3 separate regions of the Homo sapiens genome follow, and all the other regions are linked to region 2. The links are contacts of gene promoters, found by promoter capture Hi-C in blood cells and fetal thymus (Javierre and others, 2016). All regions are on one chromosome and are shown on one strand. Each heading gives the region's core, a stretch centred on a gene start or on the middle of the fragment in contact. The rest is flanking DNA. Distances are from core to core; before and after follow the strand shown.

The links. The method cuts DNA at HindIII sites, captures the fragments that hold promoters and counts their contacts. A CHiCAGO score of 5 or more calls a contact.
Region 1: a fragment that was not itself captured here is called in contact with the fragment with the promoter of FAM210A in region 2 in 1 of 17 cell types (fetal thymus); the score reaches 6.4 in fetal thymus.
Region 3: a contact is called between the fragment with the promoter of VAPA here and the fragment with the promoter of FAM210A in region 2, in 1 of 17 cell types (non-activated CD4 T cells). The highest score is 5.4, in non-activated CD4 T cells.

What each region holds. Positions count from the first base shown.
Region 1 is chr18:9,472,895-9,477,600 of GRCh38, reverse strand. RALBP1 (ralA binding protein 1) reads right to left here and starts at 2,088. Exons shown (of 10, transcript NM_006788.4): 1 at 1,910-2,088. RefSeq lists enhancers at 1,458-1,517, 1,256-2,124 and a silencer at 1,748-2,157. The HindIII fragment of the contact is 672 bases long and covers 1,049-1,720 here.
Region 2 is chr18:13,723,447-13,728,147 of GRCh38, reverse strand. It overlaps FAM210A (family with sequence similarity 210 member A), which reads left to right and starts at 1,590. Exons shown (of 4, transcript NM_152352.4): 1 at 1,590-1,819. RNMT (RNA guanine-7 methyltransferase) reads right to left here and starts at 1,475. Exons shown (of 12, transcript NM_003799.3): 1 at 1,419-1,475. RefSeq lists an enhancer at 1,487-2,412. The HindIII fragment of the contact is 3,253 bases long and covers 1-1,596 here.
Region 3 is chr18:9,912,264-9,917,046 of GRCh38, reverse strand. VAPA (VAMP associated protein A) reads right to left here and starts at 3,031. Exons shown (of 6, transcript NM_194434.3): 1 at 2,712-3,031. The coding sequence starts at 2,790. It overlaps LOC124904245 (a long non-coding RNA gene), which reads left to right and starts at 3,099. Exons shown (of 2, transcript XR_007066284.1): 1 at 3,099-3,335; 2 at 3,714-4,114. RefSeq lists an enhancer at 1,912-2,529 and silencers at 2,047-2,836, 3,047-3,096. The HindIII fragment of the contact is 3,402 bases long and covers 1,286-4,687 here.

The DNA of each region.
Region 1 (4,706 bases), core at 135-2,634, 4.3 Mb after region 2:
TCTTTAAGTCCTCTTCACCTGGTCACAGTACTTTCTACATAGTAATTCCTGTATTCTAAATAATCTGCATTTTTCCTTGTACCCTCTTATACAAACTAACATAAGTTTCTATCAGGGATCTTTCAAAACAGAAACAATATTCTTTTGGGTTACATGCTGGGCCCGATCTCTTCTTGCCAAGCAAACAACTATGCAAATATAACTGTACAAATTAAAGTTATTATGCACTTTCTGATACCACTTTCCTATTCTAAATTAGGGGAGAAATAGTCTGGATAAGATCCATAATTAGAAACAATATCCTGAAGAGAAAGCAAACTAAGTTGTATTACATTGTTTCGAGATACCTTGTTTAAAGAGTCACTTCTCAAAAGCTACTACTGTTGGCAGGGCGCGGTGGCACACGCCTGTAATCCCAGCGCTTTGGGAGGCCTAGGCGGGCAGATCACCTGAGGTCGGGAGTTCAAGACCAGCCTGACCAACATGGAGAAAATGTCTCTACTAAAAATATAAAATTAGCCGGGCGTGATGGCGCATGCCTGTAATCCCCTCAGGAGGCTGAGGCAGCAGAATCGTTTGAACCCAGGAGGCAGAGGCTGTGGTGAGCTGAGATCATGCCATTGCACTCCAACCTGGGCAACAAGAGCGAAACTCTGTCTCAAAAAATAAAAAACTAAAAAAAAAAAAAAAAAGCTACTGTTAACTAACCTACCCCACTTGGATCTACCAGATACTTTGAATGAGAGGTGGAAACCACTCTACTGACCTCCTTCCTACCCCTACTACCGCCACTCCAGCTTACAGTAATTATTTTCACAAAGACAGAAAGGAGTTATCAAATGACCACAATAACTCTAAAAACAGAAAGTGAGGTGATCTTTCTTATTCACAGTCCCACTTATTCATTTAGAAATGCTGAGCACCAAAACAAAACCTTATCACAAGTTCAGTATTTCGTTAATAACTGCCAAGTATAATGGAATACTCCCCAAAGTACTGCAGCATTAGAACATGACCACTCCACTAAATTAAAAATTCAGCGAAAGCTTTTCTAACAAGGCTGGATGGAGCACTAACTCAACGGCCAAACGGCTGCACTTCCTGTATATGCACGTTCAAAACACCTCGAATTAACATGCTAGGGACCTTGAAGAATTGTACTAGGCCTTGCTCAAGAGGAAGGCTTTGTAATACTGAATCCCAAAACTTGAAACAGCAGAATTACTTCAGGGAAGACGGAGGTGTTAAATATTCTGTAAAACCTGTTTCACTCTCACAACGATCAGTTTTAAAAAAAAGAGGGAGAACACTGACCTCATTAAGAGCATTCTGACAACACACATAGTTGAACATGAGTTGTGAAAAGAATTTTCAACTTCAGATCTGTCTGTCCATTCCCACTGAAACCTGAAGGAAGGATCGCAGCACCCAAAGGCGCCCACTGCTCAGTGCCAGCGGTGGGCGACACCAGGAGCCTGTCCTGGTCCCCTGGGTAAGCCCTGGAGCCTGGCCACTATGCCGGGCACGATCCACCAACCGTGAGGGCTGGGTCCCCTAGCCTCTGTCCAGGCGCCCCCCAAGAGCTTCCCCGAGGCCTGGGGACTCCTAACTCTCCACCCCCGGCCCCCGAGAGCACCACAAACGAGGACGCCACGAAGGGAGGCCCGTCGGCCAGTGGGAGGGACGCACGGCCAAGGGGGGCGAAAACTGGGGCGAAGCTTTCCGGGGAGGAACCCACGCCAGGGGCAGCCACGCCCCCCACCCCCAACTTCAAACCCGAGCGCTGCGAGCACCGAGCCCCACACGCTGCCTGACAGACGCGGGCGCGAGGCCGGCGCGGGAGAGGGTTCCTCGGGCACTCCAGGGGTATCGCCGCGACCCTAGCACGCGACCGCTCCCTGCGACTGACCTGTGCCTGCCGCCGCGCGACCGTCCGCCCCGCCGCAGCCTCCGCCTCCTCGCGCTCACGCTGCCGCCGCAGCCACCGGAGCCGCCTCCTGCGCTGCGCCCCAGGCCGGCCTCGGGCGCCCCATTCCCACCCCGCCCAGCCTCTGCCTGTTTACAATGATTGGGACGGAACGGGACGAGGCGGTCCAGCGCGCACGCGCATTCCCTCCTCCCGCCGCAGCCGGCTTCCCGGATCCTCCTCTCCGCTCAGACGGCTGAAGCCGTCAAGGGCAGGCGACCTGGGCTCTCGCGCGGGGCGCGCTGGGAGGCGTAGTTCCCAAGGCCCCGGCGTCCAGCCAGCCCGAAGGCCTCTCGCCAAGGAAGCAAACTACAACACCCAGGAGGCACCGCGCCCCCTTCGTCCCCAGGCTCGCTGAGGAGACTGAAGAAGAGCGCGAGAGAACGCGCCGAGGGCCAGTGCTCTGCAGGCGCCTGCGCAGTCGGTGGCCTTGCGGGTTTCGGGGACGGACGGCTTACCCCGGTGTGGTGCTGGCGAAGGTGGCTCGCGGGCATCTCCTGCAACGGCCTTGAGGATGGAAAGGGCTTTCCTCTCCACGCTCTGGCCAGCCTGCGCCTCAGCTCCCGAAGTTGAGAGCTTTCCTTGCGCCAGCGTGCTTTAGTCGTTCCAACCAGTTAAACCAGACTGGGGGCCGCCCGGCTGGCCGCTGGGTGGGGCGGCTGCCCCGCCTTCGACTGGGTGTGGGATTGGAGGAAAGAGCGCCGTGGGCCTGTAGGGATAGGCGGGAATAAACCTCTGTCGGGAACATCCACGGAATTCCTGAAGCGGGTGTGGGCTTCTGCAGGGCTTCAGCGCGCCCCCGGCTCAGCAGTTACCGAGCAGCCCCCGAGGAAAGCTGCCCAGTCCGTGTTTGGCTGGCAGTAGAGATAACTGAATTTCTTCGAGAAGCCTTTCACCCAGGCTTGTTGAGTTGCTCTGCTAATGCGTAGCGAAGGCTGGAAACGGCTTCAGCAGTCTTCGTGTTTTCTGAAATGTGGCAGTTTATTAGGGGAGAGGAGGGACTTGGAATAGACGACCCTACCTGTCACTCGCATTCCTACGTGCAGCACTCTGTGGCACTTCGTTGCCCGTTTAGATTGGCCGCTGCTATCCATCTTGCTCTCTGCTCCCACATCAGCTTTCCTCAAAGCGGGCGGTAAATTTGTCCCTAGTACTCTGCGCTCCCTACTCAGTAAAGTTCAACCCCTGGGGCCTTAGATTCATTCAGGGGCCTCCCACGAGTGGATACGGGATGGTCTGAGGTAGCCATTGGTCTTTGACTTTCGGAAAAGCCTTCTCATGGCTCCTCTCGCAGTAGAACAGTCTTCTCTGACCACTGGGTTGGGCAGGTGAGCATGGCAGTGACAATTCTCTGCCTGTGACAGCACTGATTCGGCCAAGGGGCAGGCACTGATCCACGCTGGGCCTTATGGAGGCCTTGCCTGAAGCTGCTATGTGGATGCAGGAGGGGAGCAGAGGGAGTTTTCTACTGAGGCAATTGCTGATGGACGTGTTTCTTGCAACATCGAGTGGCCTAGCCAAAGGTGAGGGTGTGAAAGAGAAGAAAGGAGAAATGGAAAGGGAGAAAGAGCTGGCAGAATGTAGACCGTGGTTTCATTTGGAGGGCATGGTTTGTGGAGCTCTTTAAGTGCTGTGAGCATGTGAGCCTAAGTGGGTGAGCCCACTCATTCATTGATTTATTATTTGGAGCCAATATGTGTGGATATTGAATGTATTTGTTGGCTGCCACTTGAGCATTTATTCCTTCCATTTAAGCCAGGCAACATAACCATTCCCTCTAGCAGCAGAGATGGTCACAAGCCCAGTCAGAAACAATGAACCCACAAAGACTGGGGCTGAGGCTTCCAGTAAACTGTAGCTTCCTTGCTCCTCTAGCATGGTGTAAGTATATGATGCCTGGAAATGTGGCAACCGTTTTCCTCCTATAAGGGGAAACCCTAGAGGGATGGGAGTTTAGAGGGACAGCAACAAGTAGAGCCTGGGGTTGAAGTCAGTACTGTCAAATGAATGCGGGAAAGATGGAGAAGAACCTTGTGTTTGGTGGCATGATTTGAGCTGCAGTATCAAACCTCACCTGTTTGATTCTATGGACTATCCTATAGACTATTCGGGATTGTGAGCAAGGCCATCTTACAGACTATCCAGAATTGTGAACCACAAATTTCCTGTACTGTTTAAGCCAGTTCATATTAAAATTCTAAAAGTCCTAACTAATTCAGTTGAATTTCTTTTACATGACTCTGAAAGGTCCTAACTAATACAGGTTCCTACGTAAAAAACTGTGGAAGGGACTTTTAGCTATGTCTGTGTGGCATAGTCAGCAATTCTCTGCACACAAAACCAGTATAAAATTGGATAAATTGGCAAAAACAACCATTTCAGAGCACTGGAAATCAAACAAATACAGAAAACAATTTGAGAAACATCTATTCTTCAGAAACAGCTAGCAGGGACAGTAGATGTCTGTGGCCTTCTGGCCTGAGGCTGCTTCTCTCCCACCCTGTTGCACCAGAACTGCAGTTTTGCCAGTGTGGGTAGGAATAGCCAAGAAAACTAGCAGCTTTGCTGCCAAAGGGATGGACTCAATTTGGGGCGGGTGGTCAAAAACCCAAGGCTTTGCCAACTAAAAGTGACAAACTCATATGGAAATGAACAGGGCAAACCCACAGCTGTGCTTACCTGAGGTTACAGTCCCAGGTGGGGCAAATGGCAAGCCAGTCAAAAATATAACAGGGAGATT
Region 2 (4,701 bases), core at 341-2,840:
GTTTCTTCTATATTCTGGTTGTTAATCCCCTGTCCGATGAACAGTTTTGCAAATCTGGGTACAGATCCAAAAGAAGGGAAATCAGTATATCTAAGAAATATCTGCAGTCTCAAGTTTATTCACAATAGTCAAGATATGGAATCAACCTAAGCGTTCATCAACAGATGAATAAAGATAATGTAGCATATATACACAATGGAATATTAGTCATTAAAAAGAATGAAATCCTGTCATTTGCAACAACATGGATGAAACCGGATGTCATTATGTTAACTGAAATAAGCCAGGCACATGAAGACAATATCATGTTGTTACTCATGTGGGAGCTAAAAATGTGGACCTGATGGAGGTAAAGAGTGGATTGGTGGTTACCACAGACTGGGAAGGGTAGCAGGAAGAGGAGCGGGATGAAGAAGAGAAATTGGTTAATGGGTACAAAAAACCCCAGAAGAAATAAAATCTAGTGCCTGATAGTACAGTGGGGTGGACACAGTTAACAATAACTTATTGTGTAGTTCAAAATAGCTAAAAGAAAAATTGGAATGTTCCCAACATAAAGATAAATGTTTGAGATGACAAATATCCCAATTGCCCTGATTTAGTCGTTACACATTGTATGCATGTATCAAAGTATCACCTGCACCTGCAAATATGTGCAACTTCTATGTATCAATTTAACAAATTGGGGGAAAAAAAACCCAAACCAAACTCAAAGTGGAATAATGAAAACACTCCATAGGGAAGAGAGCTGTCCCTCAGAATCTTCAAGAAACCTTCGAAAGGTGGTCGACTGACATGGAGATGGACACGCGATAAATAACCACACGAACATTTCGACCCGGCTTTCCAGTCACACCTCCGAAGCAAGCTATGTCTCTGCGTCATTTCAGCTCCTCAGGGTACGAGCGAGCAGGCCGCCAGGGCCGCCGGGATAAAGCCCAAGCGGGATAAGCTCTAAGTCCCGACCCGCCCGCTTGACCCTCTACCACGGGGCCCGAGAGGACGCACAGAGGCGAGAAGGGACTTCTCCAGCCAAGTTCACCCCCTCCGTCATTAGCGCGGCCTGTTACTCAACCTCTGGTTCAGGTTTCCGAAGCGCCGCTGAAGACAAACCTGCGGACCCCACGCCCCTCCCCAGCACGGCCCTGGGGCGCGAGCTGGAGCAGCTCTTCGAGCTGCTTCTCCCACCCGGGCTCGCCCAGTCTGGAGGAGGAACAGCGCCCGCCCACCCCAAGGAGTTCCCATTTTCCTTGGGACTGAGGACACAAGGCAATAGACCCACGCGTTGGGTAGTGAAGCACAGGGCTAATGCGAAGTGAGCCCATGTCAGGGGTGGGAGTGCCAGTTCCACCCCTCCACGGCGGCCGAGGGACAAACACAAAGAAAGGAAGGGCCGGAGTTCCAGCCGTCACACTCACCAGCACAGCCAAACGCGATTCTGTTTGCGGAAACGGCGGCCCGCGCCACGCGTGTCTGCTTACGTCACTTCCGGAGGTGCGAGAGTCACGTGGAGACGGTCAGGCGAGAGTGCCGCGACGCACGTCCTCCGCGCCGGAACTACGAGTCCCGACGTGCCGCGCGCGGCATGCAGAAGCTTCACTGAGCGGGCACTGGAGGTCGCGAGCACGTTGCTAGTGGGCGCGGCTGGCGGGGCCGGGGGCGGCAGGGGGCTAGCGTCCGGCTGAGCCCGGCGGGTTCCTGCACGCGGACCCACGCTTTGTCGGGCTGCTCTGCTGAGTGACACCGCCGTGGCATCCGAGGAGCTGTGGTCCAGCCTGCGCGGCGGGAAGCGGCGGCGGCGGCTCCAGCGTCCTAAGAGGTAGCATGGGCCCAGGCCTCTGTGGGGCAGCGGGAGGGGTCTAGAGGGCACCTTCAACCCTGGGCGTGTGTCCGGGAGCTGACTCGCGGCGCGAACCCGGCAACTGCTCCGCGTGCGCCGCTCTTCGGGCTGTGGCAGTGTACGACTGCCAGACGGGTCGTCCACACTCGCCGACCCCACAGACCCCGGCGGCCGAGAGAGGTCCCCCCGCCCTTCCGGGTCGAGCCAGTGTCCTGGCAAATCTTGCTTTGGGACTGTTTTTCAGCCTCCTTTGCTGTAACCCTTCACCGTGTTCTCCCCCCTTCTTCCGAAGCCAGTTGAAGAGGGGCCCGGAAGCGCCCGCGTTCGGAATGGTTTTTAAAATTAGCAATTTCTTATTAGGGACTGGCAGACTGGTCCTTACCGCCGTGTTTGGGAAGCCACAAGAGGCCATTCTTACCTGTTAGATTCTGAGAAAAGGGACCGCCTATACCTCTTCTTGACAAATACCTAAGGATGCATTAGTCTGCGTTGGCTGAACTTGGCATGGTGTGGTTTGGGGGAGACAACACACTTTTTTTGGCCATCACCCCAGATTTCTACTGGGGAGTGAAAGCGCCTACTGTACTGAAACTCGAAAGCTCCATAGTTGAGGACTTTCAACCTGAGATCAGGGTCAAAACTACCTGTGGATAGATTATTGAAGCGTGTGCATATTAACGTCGTGCGTCAAGTCCCCACCTTCCAAGGTTGTAAAACTGATCAGATTTACAATCCGTCTTGAATTACTCTTTACCAAAATTGATCCATTTAAAACAGCTTTGAAAATGTGCTTTACCAGCCTTCCTTCTTGTCAGTAGGCACAGGTATATTAATGAATAGACCTGGCTTTGGGGAAGGCAGCATTTGCAGCGTTGTGCTTTCCAATCTAATCACTTCTAAATTGTGGGCATTAGCCCATTTGAGGTTACAAACTTTGAACCAAGAATGAGGCCTATTTTTCACAAATAAGGATGACCCATCAATTTCTGATGACTGCTTGTATTTGTTATTATATGAAATGAGGTAAGTTGAGAATTAATCTCATTACATGAATATTGACAACTGCAAAAGTGTAGGTCTTACAGATCGAATGCATTATAGGCATATACAAGCATTAGAACCAGGCAATTACATTCCCTGTTCCTGATGCTTAAGTTTCTTGAGATAATTGCTGTTGTAATTTTACAGAAAATGAGTGTAATTTTGACTTTTAAAAACATGTTTTAATGTTTTTAAACACCGGGTGCAGTGGCTCACTTCTGTAATCCCAGCCGTTGGGAGGCCGAGGCGGTTGGATCACGAGGTCAGGAGTTTGAGACCAGCCTGGCCAACATGGTGAAACCCCGTCTCTACTAAAAATACAAAAATTAGCCAGGCGTGGTGGCGCGTGCCTGTAATCCCAGCTACTCAGGAGGCTGAGGCAGGAGAATCGCTTAAACCCGGAAGGCGGAGGTTGCAGTGAGCCGAGATTGCGCCGTTGCACTCTAGCCTGGGCGACAGAGCGAGACTGTCTCAAAAAAAACTAAACAAAACAAAAAAAGTTATTAGATTAAAAGCCTCTTAACTATGTGTTTATGAAAACTCCACGATGATGGGATATATAGAGATTACATTTTTCAGTTTTTATAAAACTTAACTAGAAGTTGTGTAAATTCATTTGAGAATAGAGGGGAAGGATTCTTGAAAGCAGTTAATGTAAGTAAATGAGCCAGATAAAAATGATTTTAAAGTTACCATTGGTGTTATTTTTCCCTCATTATTGCCTGAGTAATCTCTGGTTTTCTGGACATTAAAATAATAATAGCTAATACTCGAGTACCTTTTAGGTGCCAAGGTTAGTGCTTTATTCATTTGCACTCGTTTAATTCTAACCGAACCCAGTGGTATAGTTATGAGTGTTTGTTTTACAGATGAGGGTTAAGTAACTTGGCCAAGATCATGCAGCTTGTTAAGTAGTGGGATCAAGATTTGGACCCAGGCAGTCTGGCTGATTGACCAGACTCTGCTAATAATGAAACAGTGCTGGCTAGAAGATCATACTCAGAACTGGACGTTGCCTAGCAAATAGTAGATTTTTCAGAAAGTGTTTTGATACTTCTTAATGCCTGGGTTATGATGTCCCGAGAGAAAATAGTTAGATAAGGATGTTATCTTGCTGGAATGTGAGCTCCACCAAGACAAGGAAAGGACCTGCAGGATTTATTTCAACCCATTTGTAAGAAAGTGAGAGTACTTCTCTCAGAGGTATAATTTTAAAGTGTGATTTCTGTTGTAGAGTTGAAGATCATATTTTTGAAACATAGAGATTGTTTTAAAAATGTAGAAACAATGTTATAGTTTCCTAAGATAGTGTTCTGTGAAGAGAGGTGGTTCATGGAAGCTTTGTTCCTCCAAATAGTTTTGGATGAAGGACTTTTCCTCTGTTCCACTCAGGAAAGTGTTCCTACTGAAATTTCATTGTCTTTCTGGAACAAATAAAATATTATTGTTTAAAAGGTTTTTCCTTCAGTTGAAAATAAGATTTTGTTGAGTAATACTGTGTGTGATGATTAGTTTTATTATGTCAGCTTAGCTAGGCTATAATACCTAGTTATTTAATCAGATACTAGTTTGGTTGATGCTATGATGGTATTCTGAAGACGTGGTTAACATCTATAATCAGTTGACCTAAACTAAAGGATATTACCCTAAATAATGTGGGTGGACCTCATTCAATCAATTGAAGGCTAAAAAAGCCAAAACTGAAGTGTCCTGAAGAAGACAGTATTTTCCTCAAGACTGCAGCATCAATTCCTGCCTAAGTTTCCTGTCTGTAGATCTACCCTACACATTTTGAAGTTGCTATCCCCTACAGTTGTGTG
Region 3 (4,783 bases), core at 1,782-4,281, 3.8 Mb after region 2:
ATAAAACAAACTTTTTTTTAAATACTGAGGTATACAGAAAAATGTACTGAAATAGTTGGTGTCTGCTTTTGCAAAATTGTGCAACATACTGTTAATTCATCTTCAAGATGCTTGTTAGGTGTATAAAAGAAAAACCATCCAATCTCAGAATGATTACCTGAGTCACTCCTGGAGAAACCATCTCAAACTCAGAATCAATAACTAAAATAAACCTACTAGAAGATGACAAAGAATTTTGCAAAACTGTCTTCTAAAAGTCCTTCACTTAGAAAGTTTTGAATGACTTAGGGTAAGTCAGTTAAATGATTTTTTTCTATCATAAACTAAGCCCAAGTAGACTGTACATTCTAAATGAATCTCCTCAGTGTTGAACTGTGCATTTAAATACACAAAGGTTTCCATCAAAGCCAACAATTTACCTTTGACTAAAACGATAATATTAAGGAATCAAACACCAAATGTCACCTCCCAATCCTCCCCATCATCTCCATCTTTAAACTGAAACACACAACAAACTATTGGGCATTTAAGTACCAGGCATTCTCTCACAGCAGTGTGTTTACTCAACCACTCTCTTGGCCTAAACCTCCCCTGAAATGAAAAACAAGCCTTTTCCTTAAATGCTTCCTAAGGGAGGGATGGGGCACATAGAGAAAGGGCTTCTTTCCTCAGACACGGTTGTGTCTCTGTTATACCATCTACACACCTTTTCTGCTTCCCTGGCTAGTCTTATTTTTACTGGCAACACAAAAACAATGAGTTCTATAATCATAGCTGTAATTCTCCAACACCCCCAAAAAAGGAAATATATGAGTAAGTCACTGTGTAGGGCTTTTGCTTGTTTTTTAAACTTGCTTCTCCACTATTATTACTCCCTTACTATAGCAACATAACAACTTCCCTAAGGAGAAAACTTCAAACTCTGTGGACATTTCCTGGCCTAAAACTGGTTGTAAAGGCTTATAAATCCCTAATGGCAATTTACACATAGTTATCCAGTAGAGGAAATGTTCACTGTAAACACAGCCAATCAAAAGATAAAAACGAAATATTAAAAAAAAACACACCATACAGATTTACATTAAATTATCTCAAGATAATGGCTGAGTCAGGACTCTTCATAATTCCTCAAAGGTTTTCCCCCAGCTACAACTACGTAAAAATCACACAACTTACATAAACTTGCAATAAAATACATTCACTGCACCTTAAAACCAAATCCTTACCCAACAAGTAGCTCACTTACACTTCTATTCAAAGAAATTTGTAAACGCACTAAAAAGCTTGCAATGTAGTTATGCAATATTAATCTCATAATTCCAGAATATATTTTAAATTCCTAAACCTGAAGTTTTTCCTATGGAAAACAATGTAGTTGGCTTTCTCTTGGACTCAGCCTTACACAACAATAAAGGATTTAATTTTTTCTTTTAGCACTAGAATTGCTATACACCTCACAAAAATTGTTCTCATTCAACAATTGAAATACAAGACATAGACTTCCAAAACGGGACTCACTTTACACTTAACTAAAGATAGGAAGGAACCTACTTTCTATTAGATGTTCACACTCTTTCAGTATTCCTTAAAAACAAAGAAAAAAAATAAAAATCTGTACATTTTAACTCTCTTTCCTAAAGTACACTACATATTGACAAGGAAACCGACCAAAAGCCCCTGGGATTCTTCCAGGATCACCAAGTCAGACTAAAAAACTTATCACAGGCAGTACTACAAAAACCTACAAAGTTCCAGAGCTGGGTGACACCTTATCAGCCTTCTCAGGATCTGTCGGAAACCGCAAACGTAAAAGCAAAAAAGTCACACGCACTGAAGGTTTCTCAGCAGAGGAGCTCAACTAAAGGGCTAAATAAAAGCACGCGGGTGGCACACTGAAATGTCGTAGAAGGCAGGAAGCCCCGCTACTATGAACCTACAACTCTCCGTTTGCGGCTGACGCATCGCTCCTGCCCGCACGCACCTGGGTCCGTGCCAACAGCACCGGGCAGCCCTCGCCAGGCACCTCCAAGGACTCTCCACCTCCCCGGCGCGTCCTACACCTGACGGCCGAGTTCTAAACCTGGCGGAAAGGTGACAAGCGACGCCCTCCGCGGAACCCGAGGGCCGGCTGCAGCGAGCTCTCCCCGGGCCGGGGCAGGGGTCGGGGGGCGGCTCTCACTCCCAAGGGGTCCCGCGCCGTGCCCTAGCCTCCCCGCGCCGCTGACAGCCGGGAGCGGGCGACAGACGCAGCTTGCGCCACCTCCAGAGCCCACTCCCCGCCGCAGCCCAGAGCGCACGCCCTCGGGTGCCCAGCCGCCCACGCCCCGCCGAAGCACGCCGTCGGCCTCTGGGGCCAAGGACGCGGGCCCAGGCGGACCGCGGCGCGGGCGGGACCGGACGCCCAGGAGGCGCCCCCGCGGGACCGCAAGATGGCGGCGGCGGCGGCGCCAGGGCCGGGCTCCCCTCCGCCTCGCCCCGGCCGGCGCGCGCACCGCAGCGAGGGCGGGCGGGAGGGGATGAAGCGGGCCGGAGCAAGGGGCAGGCCGGCCGAGGTGGCGGCAAGAAAGCAGCCGGGAAAGGGAAGGCGCCGGGGCGTGGGGGAGGGGGCGCTCCCTCGGGCCAGGGCCGCGGACGTGCCCTCCGCGCCCCCCCGCCGACAGCCAGCGGTCCGCGCGCCCCACCCCACCCGGGGGTGTCCCCGTTCTGCCTACCTTTGAATTTGAGGTCTGTGGGCGGATCGAGGACCAGGATCTGCTCGTGCTTCGCCATGGCCCCTGAGGCGGACGCCATCGGAGAGACAGCGCAGAGCGGGGGCGCGCCCGCGGCGGCGGTTTGCTGACTGGGGGCGGGGGACGACGGCGGCGACGGCTCGGCCGAGCTCTAGGACGAGGCCAGGCTCGCGGCTCCCGAGCCCTAACGCCTGCCGCTGTGTCACCGGTTCGGTGGGCCACCCGCTGGGTCAGCAGCTCCGGGTCCCACAACTGACTCAACCCCACACCAGCCGCCACGGCCACGCGCACTTGCGAGCCTCGGCGACCCACGTGACGGCCTCTGCGTGCCTACGTGCGCGCCCCCGGCCGGGAGCTTCTAGCGCTTGTCCCGCCCTCCAGGCCGGCCTAGCGCGGCGCGGGGCTGCTGCGCCTGCGCGCTCGCGGCTTGCCGCGGCCCGGAGCGCAGCCCAGCTGTCAAGGGAACGGGTGTGGAAGGAGGCGGGGCAAAGGTCCGCGGGACCGACGCGATGCGCAGCGCAGGGCTGGAAGCGCAGTCCTCTGTCACCTTGAGCTCCGAGTACGGAACTAGAGAAACTGCTCTGGCAGCGCATCACACTCTTCCAAGTGGGAATGCCCAGTGGAAGGGACAAGTAGTAGTAGGGAAGCGCCCACTCACTACAACTCCCGGCATGCCCCCTGCGGGGCGGGGCCTTCGCCGAGGGCCTGGCCCTTTGCGGCCCTGCGCGGTGCTTGCTGGGAACTGTAGTAACGGCTGTTTGAGGGTGGAAAGGAGAGCTAGGTCTGTTGGAGGCAATGGGGTGGGGTTCGCGGACGCTAATTTTGGCTCTCAGAGCGCGTCTAGTTTGCGCTAAAAAAGAAAAAACTTGAAGACTGAAACGAGGCCCCAATGTTAGAAATATATTAATAAAATCTGCCCTGTGGAGAACAGGCGTGGGGGGATGTGTCCGTTTGCTCTAATTCTATCCAGTCCTCTGTTGGCAGGGCTGCATTCCCCGTGGTATCCAATTCAGCCTCTCCTGCTTCCTGAGTTCTCTCCAGTGATGCAAAATCAGATAAGGAAACACACCTCGTCTAGGAAGCAAGGGGAAATATGACAAAGCACACAGAAACTAGAAATAAAAGTCAAAAATCTACACCATCGAACCCAAATAATCTTCTTCAGTTTTAATGATGGACCCAAACCAAAACAGTTCTCACGTTCACATGTTAGAAACTAACTCCATCTGCATCACTTACGATAGGCTGTAGTAAACTGAACCAAATAAGAAAAATCCCAGCAGCAAACTTGCTGACAAAACTTTAGCCGATTGCCAGGGTAGTCCGGTACAGGAACGTCAAATGAAACCAATGTGCTGTAAATAAACCTTTATTGTATTTTGTGATACGGTTTGAATTTAAATCCCTAGGTAGCGCCACGAAACAAAAGACATATTGATGCTACTGCCATGGAGCAGCACAGTTTGTCTAGAAAATAAACGAGACGAAACAGCAGTCTAGAAGTAGGCACCAAATCCAAGTTTTCATGTGCGATCCAGGTATTAGGGTCCATCCAGGAACAGCCTGCTGGAATTGCTAGCCTGGCATTCACAGAAGATTGTGCCACCCACGAGGAATGTGTTTTCAGCCCTGAAATTCCTGGGAGTGAGAGGTGAAGCCAGCTGGATTTCTGGGTTGGGTGGGGACTTGGAGAACTTTTCTTACAAGAGGATTGTAAAATGCACCAATCAGCACTCTGTAGCTAGCTAGAGTTTTGTAAAATGCACCAATCAGTGCTCTGTAAAAACGCACCTATCAGCACTCTGTAGGTAGCTAGAGGTTTGTAAAATGGACCAATCAGCACTCTGTAAAATGGACCAATCAGCAGGGCATGGGCAGGGACAAATAAGCCAATAAAAACTGGCCACCCCAGCCTGCAGGGGCAGCCTGCTTGGGTCCTTTTCCACATTGTGGAAGCTTTGTTCTTTTGCTCTTCACAATAAATCTTGCTGCTGCTCAGTCTTTGGGTTTGTGCCATCATTTCTTTCTTTCTTTTTTTTTTTTTTTTTTTTTGA